2 separate regions of the Homo sapiens genome follow, and region 1 is linked to region 2. The links are contacts of gene promoters, found by promoter capture Hi-C in blood cells and fetal thymus (Javierre and others, 2016). All regions are on one chromosome and are shown on one strand. Each heading gives the region's core, a stretch centred on a gene start or on the middle of the fragment in contact. The rest is flanking DNA. Distances are from core to core; before and after follow the strand shown. Region 1 has its middle 5.2 kb from the start of TRY-GTA6-1. Region 2 holds the start of H4C4 (H4 clustered histone 4).

Region 1 (5,609 bases), core at 2,851-5,350, 400 kb before region 2:
AGAATCTGGTGTCAGAACGGCCATTCTATTTATTCCCTCTTGTTGCAGACACAAGTTCAAAATGGGTTTATGGCTAAATCTAACTATCTGAAATAATTCTTGGAAATGTATCATCATCACTTGATTACAATCTCACCCTGTAGCTTCTCTATTGTTTTAGCACCTTTTCAACTTGCGAATTGAGTCCTACCTAGATGGTTTTAACTTCTCTTGAAGCTTACAGACCACTATAATATTCCTATGGAATAAAAAGGAACAAACTATTGGTAAACGTAACAACAGGGATGAAACTCATCTGCATTATGCTGAATTTACAAAGCCAGATACAAAATGCTACATACTATATTATTCCTATGAAATTCTTGCAAGGGCAAAGCTATAGGGACAGAAAATATCCTTAGTTGCTACTGGGGTAGAAGATAGGGGAGAAATTAAGTATAAAAGAAACATAGTGATTCAGTAAGAACAAAATAGAAAAAGAAGAAGAGGAAGAAGAAGGAGAAGGAGAGGAGGAGGAGGAAGAGGAGGAGAAAGAAAGAAGGAAGAAAGAAGAAGAAGAAACAACTTCTTTCTTCTTTCCTCCTGGGAGGCTAGGCCTGGTGTCATGCCTGTAATGGCTTGAGCCCAGGAGTTCCAGCCTGCAGTAAGCTATGATGGAAGAACTGCACTCCAGCCTGGGTAACAGAGCATGACCCTGTCTATTAAAAAAAAAAAAAAAAGAAGAAGAAGAAGGAGAAGGAGAAGAAGAAGAAGGAGGAGGAAAAGAAGAAGAAACATGCAGAAATTTGGGGGTAGAGTGATATTATTATTCCATATCTTGATTGTAATGGTGATAACACGACTGTCTATATTTGACAAAATTTGCTACACTAAGGAGAATGTACATTAAAACTGATGACATTACTGTATGTGAATTGTACCTTAATCTAAAAAATGGGAAGAGTAACTTTCAAAGAATTAAAGAAGAAAAGAAAAGTGTAGCTTAGAATTTAATTTTGAAATCAATGTAATCAGTGTAATTACTTTATTATCAGACTAAACAGGAAAAGCCATATGATTATTCCAGTAGGTGTAGAAAAAAGCAATTGACAAAATTCAGATACATTTGTTAGAATTTCTGCAAAGTATAAAAGACATATTTAAGAATTCAACAGCTAATATATTTAGTGATGAAAAACTCAAATGTTTTGGCCCTAACATCAGGTCCAGAGCAAGGATGTCCACTCTCACAACTTCTATTCAGCATTATCCTAGAGATTCTAGCCAGTGCAATAACACAAGAGAAAGAAAAAAATACAGATTAAAAGGAAAAAGTGAGACTATCTTTATTTGCATGTAACATTATTGTCTACGAGAAAATACTGAGGAAACTTCTACAAAGCTACTACAACTAATGAGTAAGCTTACCAAAACTGCAGGACACAAATATAATAAATTGTAATTCTATTTATTAATAGATTGTATTTGTTAACAATAAATAGTTAGAAATTGAAATACAAAATACCATTTGAAATAGTATAAAAAATATGAAACATTTAGAGATAAATTTACCAAGATGCAATGAAAGCAATGCATTGTTTCCAGAACAGAAAATTTAAACAATTTTCAGATATCAATTCCACATCTTTCAAATTGACTGATACATTTAATGCCATGACTATCAAAATCTCAATGATTTTTTTTAGAAATTGGCAAGCCAAATATAAAATGTATAAAATGTATACAGACAGTCAAAAGATGCAAAATATCCAAACTAATTTTGAAGAACAAAGTTGGAAGAACACTACCTGATTTCAAGACTTACAACAAAGCTACATAGAGTCTAGAGATAAACTTACATGATTATGATTAATTGATTTTTGACAGAGGTGCCAAGGTAATTCTACAGGAAAACGATAATCTTTGCAAAATGATGCTAAAAAACCTGAATATCCATGTGCTAATAAGTGAACTTAGACCCTTATATCACACAATGTACAAACATTAATTCAAAATTAATCAAAGACTTAAATGCAAGGACTAGAACAACAAAACCTCTAGAAGAAAACGTAGAAGGAACTCTTTGTGACTTTAGGTTAAGCAAAAAGATTTTAAATGGGACACAAAAGCATAAACCATAAAGGAAAAAATAAGTTGAATTTCATCAAAGTTTAACAAAAAATCTGCGCTTCAAAAGATACTGTTAAGAAAAGACAAGTCAGGCCAGGCATGGTAGCTCAAGCCTGTAATCCCAGCACTTTGGAAGGCTGAGGCCGGCAGATTGCTTGAGTCCAGGAGTTCAAGATCAGCCTGGGTAACACAGCGAAATCCCCTCTCTACCAAAAAAAAAAAAAAAAAAAAAGTCACAGTTTAGAAAAAGATACTTGGAAAACACTTCCCTGATGCAGGACTTATAACCAGAACAATAACATACTCTTGCAACTCAATAATAAGACCAGACAATACCCTTTTTTAAATGGACAAATGATTTGGACAGATATTTTACAAAAGAAGCTGTACTGATGGCCAATAAGCATAATAAGATATGTAACATCACTATTCATTAGGCAGATGCAAATTAAAGCCACAATGAGATACTTTACACACCTAAGAGAATAGCTGAAGTTAAAAAAAAAAAAGGTGAGAAATTAACAGTGCCGAGCGCCGATGATGATGTGAAATAACTGAAATTCTTATATATTGCTGGTGGGAATACAAACTGGTCCACCTTGAAAAACACTGTCAGTTTTTAAAAATGAAGTTATACATATATTTGCCATAACACTACATGAATATTTATAGTAGCTTTATGCATAACTGCCAAAAACTAGAAACATCCAAGTATCTATCAGCTGGTGAATGGATAAGTTGTAGTAAATCCACATAATGGAATACTGCTCAGCAATAAAAGGAATTAACTACTAATATATGCCACATTGATAATTTTTTTTTTTAAGACAGAATTTCGCTCTTATCACCCAGGCTGGAGTGTAGTGGCGCAATCTCGGCTCACTGCAACCTCTGCCTCCCGGGTTCAAGCGATTCTCCTGCCTCAGCCTCCCGAGTAGCTGGGATTACAGGTGCCCGCCACCACGCCCGGCTAATTTTTTGTATTTTTAGTAGAGAGGGGGTTTCGCCACGTTGGGCAGGCCGGCCTCCAACTCCTGACCTCGGGTGATCCGCCTGCCTCGGCCTCCAAAAAGGCCACCACATTGATAAATCTTAAAGCATTATGTTATATAAAGAAAGTCAATCATTGACTGGGCGGTGTGGCTCACGCCTGTAATCCCAATACTTCGGAAGGCTAAGGAGAGCGGATCACCTGAGATCGGGAATTCGATACCAGCCTGGCCAACATGGTGAAACACCGTCTTTATTAAAAATACAAAAATTAACCGGACGCGGTAGCGGGAGCCTGTAACCCTAGCTACTTGGGAGGCTGAGGCAGGAGGATCGCTTGAACCCGGGAGGCAGAGACTGCAGTGAGCCAAGATCGCGCCACTGCACTCTAGCCTGGGTGACAGAGCAAAACTCTTGTCTCAACAACAACAACAACAACAACAACAACAACAGGGAATTACAAAGGGATACATTCAATTTATTATTATTATTATTTAGACAGGGTCTCAACTCTGTCACCCAGGCTCTAAAGAGTGCAGTGGTGGGATCTCGGCTCATAGCAACCTCCGCCTCCCGGGTTCAAGTTATCCTCCAACCTCAGCCTCCCGAGTAGCTGAGGCTACAGGCACGTGCCACCACGCCCCGCTAATTTTTGTAGAGGCGGGTTTTCGCCTTGTTCCCCAGGCTGGTCTCCAACTCCTGACCTCAAGTGATCCACCCGCCCCGGCCTCCCCAAGTGCTGGGATTACAGGCATGAGCCACGGTGCCTGGTCCCAAATTATTTCATTTATACAGTTAGAGAAAAGACAAAAGTATAAAAACCAAAATCAGGCCGGGCGCGGTGGCTCACGCCTGTAATCGCAGCACTTTGGGAGGCCGAGGCGGGCAGATCACCTGAGGTCAGGAGTTCGAGACCTGCCTGACCAACATGGTGAAATCCCATCTCTACTAAAAATAAAAAATTAGCCGGGCGTGGTGGCACATACCTGTAATCCCAGCTACTCGGGAGGCTGAGGCTCGGAAGGCTGAGGCAGGAGAATCGCTTGAACCCAGGAGATGGAGGTTGCAGTGAGCCGAGATCGCGCCATTGCACTCCAGCCTGGGTTGTCAGGGGCTGAGAATGGATAGCAGCAATCGACTGTAAAAGGGCATGAGACAGTTTTGGGAAGCAAAGGATATGTATTTATCTTTGTATTTGTGTTGGTTACTTCCAGCATACATTTGCCTGAACTTGCTAAAATGTGCACTTTCTTCTCAACACTTACAGACTGCTGTCAATTTTTTTAAAAAAAATTTTAAATGCACACTTTGAAAGTTTTACTTGTACAAAACCCTGACTTATAAAGTAAACAAAATACTTTATAAGTTGTACTTTATAGGTTGGTGCAAAAGTAATTGCGGTTTTGCCAGTAAAAGATGGGAACAACCGCAATTACTTTTTGCCGTTTTCTACTGGCAAAACGGCAATTACTTTTGCATCAACTTACTGTATGACTAAGAAACCCTGTCTCTACTAAAAATACAAAAATTAGCCGGGCGTGGTGGCGCACGCCTGTAATTCCAGCTACTCGGTAGGCTGAGGCGGGAGAATCGCTTGAACCCGGGAAGCCGAGGTTGCAGTGAGCGGAGATGTTGCCACTGCACTCCAGCCTGGGAGACAGAGGGAAACTCTGTCTCAAAAATATAATAAATAAATAAATAAATAAATCACTCAGAACCAAATAAATGAGAGATATAACATATTTATGGATCAGAAGATTTGATACTGTGGAGCTGCCAAGTCCCTCCGGTTAATTTATGGATTCAACACAATCCCAATAAAAATCCCAGTGGGTTGTTTTTTTTTTTGTAAAAATGGTCCAGATTATTTTACAAAATTAACTTGGAACACAAATAACTCAGAATAACAACAGCCATCTTAAATAAGAATTACAAAGTTGGAGGACATACACTGTTAAGTTTTCAAGATTTATTTAAAAATTAAGTAATCAAGACAAAATGGTGTTGGTGTAAGGATAGGCCTGCAGATCAATGGGACAAACTAGAGAGCCAGGAAGCAGACTCACATACATATTGACAATTGATTTTTGAGAAAGCTGTCAAAATAATTCAATGGAAAAAGGATAGGCGTTCAGTAATTGGTACGGGTACAATTGGACATTCATGTATTTAAAAAAATCTATGGCCCCACATCAGCAACATATTTAATAATTAAAACTTTATCATAAAATTGTAAAACTTCTAGAAGAAAATTTGTATGACCTTTGGTTAGGCAAAAAATTCTTTAAAGGAACACACACACAAAAAAAGCTATAAAAATATAAATTAATAAATTAGACTTAATCAAATTTAAATGTTTGCTTTATAAAAGACACTGCTTAGGCCAGGCATGGTGGCTCACACCTGCAATCCCACCACTTTGCGAGGCAGATGTGGGAAGATCACCTGAGGTCAGGAGTTCGAGACCAACCTGGCCAATGTGGTGAAAGTCTGTCTCAACTAAAAATACA
Region 2 (5,086 bases), core at 396-2,895:
ACTTGTCCTGCCAATTACACTGTTTGTTGCCTGAGTTCATACACAGAAAAAATGCTGTTTCTGTTGGAGAATAGTAAAAAGAAAAAAAAAAGATTTGACTTTTTTTTTTTCTATACTCATTCCCAGATCCCCTGAAGACTTTCTATGTATCCCAGGCTAAGAACCTTACTCTGCAATCTTTTCCATGTACCATAAACTCAATAAACAGCAAACAGCTGTGATAAACTTGGTTCTTCTCACAAGTCATGAAGGAAAAGCCAAATATTCCACCCAAAGGACCTGGAACTTTTTATGGGGATTAATGATGAGTTAAGTTTTTAATTATTTATTATTTTGAGGAGTTCTCGAAATCAGATTTTAGCAAATTAGAATACTGTCTCTCATCCCTTTAGAAGGGTGAACCTTAAGGATAGGAATTGAAAACACCCACAATATTGTACTATACCATAATTAATGTTTAGTCATTGCTTATTTGGAATCTAGACACTATTCTAAGCATTTTGATAGGATTATCTGTTTCAACTTAACAAATACTTACAAGTTAGATTTTTAAAAATACATTTACAACAAGGAAACTTAGTATAGCTTGCCCAGGGTCACCCCCACAGCATGTATGTCAAGCAGGCTGTCTCTATGATAGTTTGGAGGGATACTATGATGCCAATTTGCTGGAGTAATAGAATATGGTGAATGATGCAGTGCTAGCTACAATCTGTCCATGATTAAAGGCACAATCAAAGCATAAATTTTCATAAATTTCAGCCCAACAAGGTTTTCTTTTACGGGTGTACATAGTCATGTTTTCAATCGGCCCTCGGTGATCTTATCCTAATTTGACCTCTAAATGTGTAACTTTCATATACTTTTAGTTCCCTCAGTAGCACTATCTAGCCTGCATGCCAAAGAGCCCTGCTTGGTTAACTAGGAATGCATAAATCAATAAAAATAATCTCAGAGACAATAAAGATATGAGTTACTTAAAATACTTTGAAAGCACCTTATGGCCCGGCGCGGTGGCTCACGCCTGTAATCCTAGCACTTTGGGAGGCCGAGGCAGGTGGATCACAAGGTCAGGAGTTCGAGACCATCCTGGCCTATGGTGAAACCCCGTCTCTACTAAAAAAATACCAAAATTAGCTGGGCATGGTGGCGGGCGCCTGTAACCCCAGCTACTCGGGAGGCTGAGGCAGGAGAATTGCTTGAATCCGGGAGGCAGAGGATGCAGTGAGCCTAGATCGTGCCACTGCATTCCAGCCTGGGCAACAGAGCAAGAACCCGTCTCAAAAAAAAAAAAAAAAAAAAAAAAAAAAAGCACCCTGTGAGGGAAACAGTACTAATTATTTGATATTCTGGGAAAAGTGGGGGACAATTGTCAGGCTTCTTTGTCGAAAGTTTATGAACTGATGGCTCAGTTAATGGCTGCAAGTATAGTGTGTGTGTATATATATATATATACCTAGCAGTATTTATTAAATCCCAGCTGAGGCTCTTTTGTTGCCTCAGGCCCCTCTTGGTCTCCTCCAGTCTGAGCAAGGGAGAATTGCACAGAAGGGCGGGAACTGACTGTGGTTCCCGCCCCTTCTCATGAGGTTTTCAAACAGGTCCGTCATGCTATTATAAAAGTGCTGCGTGGCTCTGCCAGACGTATTGCGTTACAGATTTAACAGCTGTGGTTTCAAGATGTCTGGCCGCGGTAAGGGCGGAAAGGGTCTAGGTAAGGGTGGCGCCAAGCGTCACCGTAAGGTATTGCGTGACAATATCCAAGGAATCACCAAGCCCGCTATCCGCCGCCTGGCTCGCCGCGGCGGCGTCAAGCGTATTTCTGGCCTCATTTATGAGGAAACTCGCGGAGTGCTGAAAGTTTTCCTGGAAAATGTAATCCGCGATGCTGTCACCTACACGGAACACGCCAAACGCAAGACAGTCACAGCCATGGACGTGGTGTACGCGCTCAAGCGCCAGGGACGCACTCTTTATGGCTTCGGCGGCTGAGCTTACCTCTACAGTACACTACCGCAAAACCAACGGCCCTTTTCAGGGCCACCTATCCACTCAGGAGAAAGAGTAGTAGTCACTGCTAAAAGTGTAGTTTCACGTGTTTAGTAGCTCCGGTTTTCAAGTTAAATGGTCTTATTACGCCTTGGCTTCATATCTTACTGGCCGGTGAGGATAGTGTATTAAAGTTTATTTTCACTCTTGCTGTGTCGCCCATGCTGGAGTAATCAATGGCGCGATCTCGGCAATCTGCAGTCTCCGCCTCCCGGGTTCAAACGATTCTTGTGCCTCAGCCTCTTGCGTAGCTGGGGCAACCGGCTTGCGCCACCAACACCCGGCTAATCTTTGTATTTTTTGCAGCGATGGGTTTTCGCCATGTTTCCCAGGCTGGTCTTGAACTCAAGCTCAAAAGAGATTTCCCTCCTCCGCCTCCGAAAGTGCTGGGATTACAGGCGTGAGCCACCACGCTTGGCCTGTGTTTTCTGTATTTCTGTAAGGAAACATGGCAAACTGCTGCTAACATTCTTCATGGCTATCAGAGAAACAAGGTAGCAAAGACTGTAGCTGCTGGAGAAACAAGGTAGCAAAACCTGTATCTCAGAAGGCAAGTGGTAAAGGCTGATGCTGCCGTGAAGAATAGTGAAAAAAATGGAGGTAGTTACTAGTTCCTACCAAGGCATTGTTATATGAAAGGAAGACAAAATGGCATTCAGATGGTTATTGGTGTGGGGGGATGGGAGGTGTGTTGGAGGCACTTGACTGGCAAATACATTCTTTAAAGAAGAAAGTAGTAATTACCGTGGGAGAAACAACCATGAAAGTACATAAGATTCAACATTTTTTAGTGGAATGGGGAGAGGCCAACTTGTTTGGTTCTGTTCCTCTGAGCTGCCTTCCATCCAGATCTACTGATTTTCTATTGTTGAATTTAAAAGGACTTTTTATTTATGTACCCGTGGCCAATTTAAAGGTATGTTGAACGAGTTCTTTTTTTGTTGTCCTTTTATCTTAAATAGTCTTAGACTTTATTATTAACAGAAGTCATTTTACCTTAAATCATAGATCAGGTTACTGTGGTTGCATGAATGGGTGTTTAAAACCGAGGTTGTCATGATTAAATTCCCACCTTCTTTCCCTTTACACCTCAGGAAATGAGACAAAAATAAGTAAGCCATTCCCTAGTGGGTTACTCCAGTCCTTACAATCGCAGGACTATCAGTATGCCACTGTATTATTCGCTGTCCTCAAAATGGATTTTAATTTGTGGAGAATATTGAGTAAACCCTTATTTTTCCAATAAAGTTTTTTCACTTTATCATAATAAAAAGAAAGCTGGACAGGTGGCTATCTAGCAAGAGACAACATTTCCTGGTCTTTCTGGGAGCAGATGTAAGCATGTGGCTACATTATTTCCAACACAGGTGAGACACATAGAAAAGTTACTACCAGGTCTGGGCTTTGAAACTTCCATGTTACCTTCTTCCCCAAGTATAATGGTATTGATTTCATTTTGAGCAATTAGAGAACATCAGGCCCTAGGAGATGACAGAACATTGACTTGGAAGGAACGAAATTTCCTGATTGATCACAAGGAGCAGAGCTGCTTCACAAAGCTGGACTAATCACAATGGATTTGTTCCATGAAACAAAAATATCTGTCTTTAAGCTTATTTATTGTTGAGTCTCTTTGTAAGCAGCATAACTTTATCACACAAAATTCAGTTTTGTTACTAAACTTATTTAGTATTGTGGAATGTCCTTCCATTGACCTGAAAGCTCTTTACAGAAAAGCTGATGCCAAATGAGCCTGTCGACTTGGTATCACCTCTGTTGGGTTCCATTATAGACAGAACAGAGTGGGGCTGATTACAAGTTAGAGATCAGGCAAGGCACGTGGCTCACGCCTGTAATCCCAGCTCTTTGGGAGGCCAAGGTGTGTGGATCACTTGAGGTCAGGAGTTTGAGACCCGCCTGGCCAACACGGAGAAACCTCGTCTCTAATAAAAATACAAAAATTAGCCGGGCATGCTGGCACATGCTTGTAGTCCTAGCAACTTTGGGGTCACAGAGTGAGACTCTATCTCAAAAAAAAAAAAAGTTATCAATGGGTAGACTAGATAGTCTATATGTCTTCAGCAGTGGTAACCTGTATATTTCAATGGGCTGACTTCCCTTCAAGAGTGGTTCTGCTGGGCACTGTGGCTCTCACCTGTAATCCTGGCACTTTGGGAGGGCAAGGCAGGGGGATCACCTGAGGTTGGGAGTTCGAGAACACCCTGACCAACATGGAGAAACCCTGTCTCTACTAAAAATAAAAAACTAGCTGGGCATAGTGGCACATCCCTGTAACCCCAGTTACTCAGGAGGCTGAGGCAGGAAAATCGCTTGAACCCAGGTGGCAGAGGTTGTGGTGAGCCAAGATCGTGCCATTGCACTCCAGCCTGGGCAACAAGAGCAAAACTCTGTATCAAAAAAAAAAAAAAAAAAAAAAAATAGAGTAGTTTGTAGTAATAGATGGATCAAAAACTCCTTTGAGAATCTGTTGAAAATAGACATATGAACATAGACATTTTATGAGGCTCATTATTCTCAGAAACTCAAGGAACTCCCAGGGCTCCATGGATTCCTGTCAACAACCAGAAGTCTAGGATTTCAGGGTCTGAGATCTAGAGATCCCAAATTTAAAGATAGAGAGGAATCGCAGACATAATACTAAATAATACATTGAACAGGAGTGAGTTACCATTTGCTGAGTGAAATAGACCTATATTCTTCTTCTTCTTCTTCTTTTTTTTTTTTTTTTTGAGATGGAATTTCCCTCTGTCACCCACGCTGGAGTGCAGTGGTGTGATCTTGGCTCACTGCAGTCTCCGCCTCCTGGGTTCAAGCAATTCTCCTATTCTTCTGCCTCAGCTTCCCAAGTAGCTGGGACTACAGGCCTGTGATACTATGCTCAGCTAATTTTTGTATTTTTAATAGAGACAGGGTTTTGCCATGTTGGACAACCTGGTCTTGAAATCTCGACCTCAGATGATCCGCCCTCCTTGGCCTCCGAAAGTGCTGGGATTACAGGCGTGAGCCACCATGCCCA

What was found. The method cuts DNA at HindIII sites, captures the fragments that hold promoters and counts their contacts. A CHiCAGO score of 5 or more calls a contact.
Region 1: a fragment that was not itself captured here is called in contact with the fragment with the promoter of H4C4 in region 2 in 7 of 17 cell types (neutrophils, total CD4 T cells, total B cells and 4 more); the score reaches 9.5 in neutrophils.

Annotation. Positions count from the first base shown.
Region 1 is chr6:26,586,859-26,592,467 of GRCh38, reverse strand. No RefSeq gene overlaps it. Among named protein-coding and RNA genes, the nearest start is that of TRY-GTA6-1, 5.2 kb to the left of the region's middle. The HindIII fragment of the contact is 5,392 bases long and covers 1,405-5,609 here.
Region 2 is chr6:26,185,671-26,190,756 of GRCh38, reverse strand. It overlaps H4C4 (H4 clustered histone 4), which reads left to right and starts at 1,645. Exons shown (of 1, transcript NM_003539.4): 1 at 1,645-2,047. The coding sequence starts at 1,681. The coding sequence ends at 1,992. RefSeq lists enhancers at 1,457-1,636, 2,419-3,044. The HindIII fragment of the contact is 9,357 bases long and covers 1-3,663 here.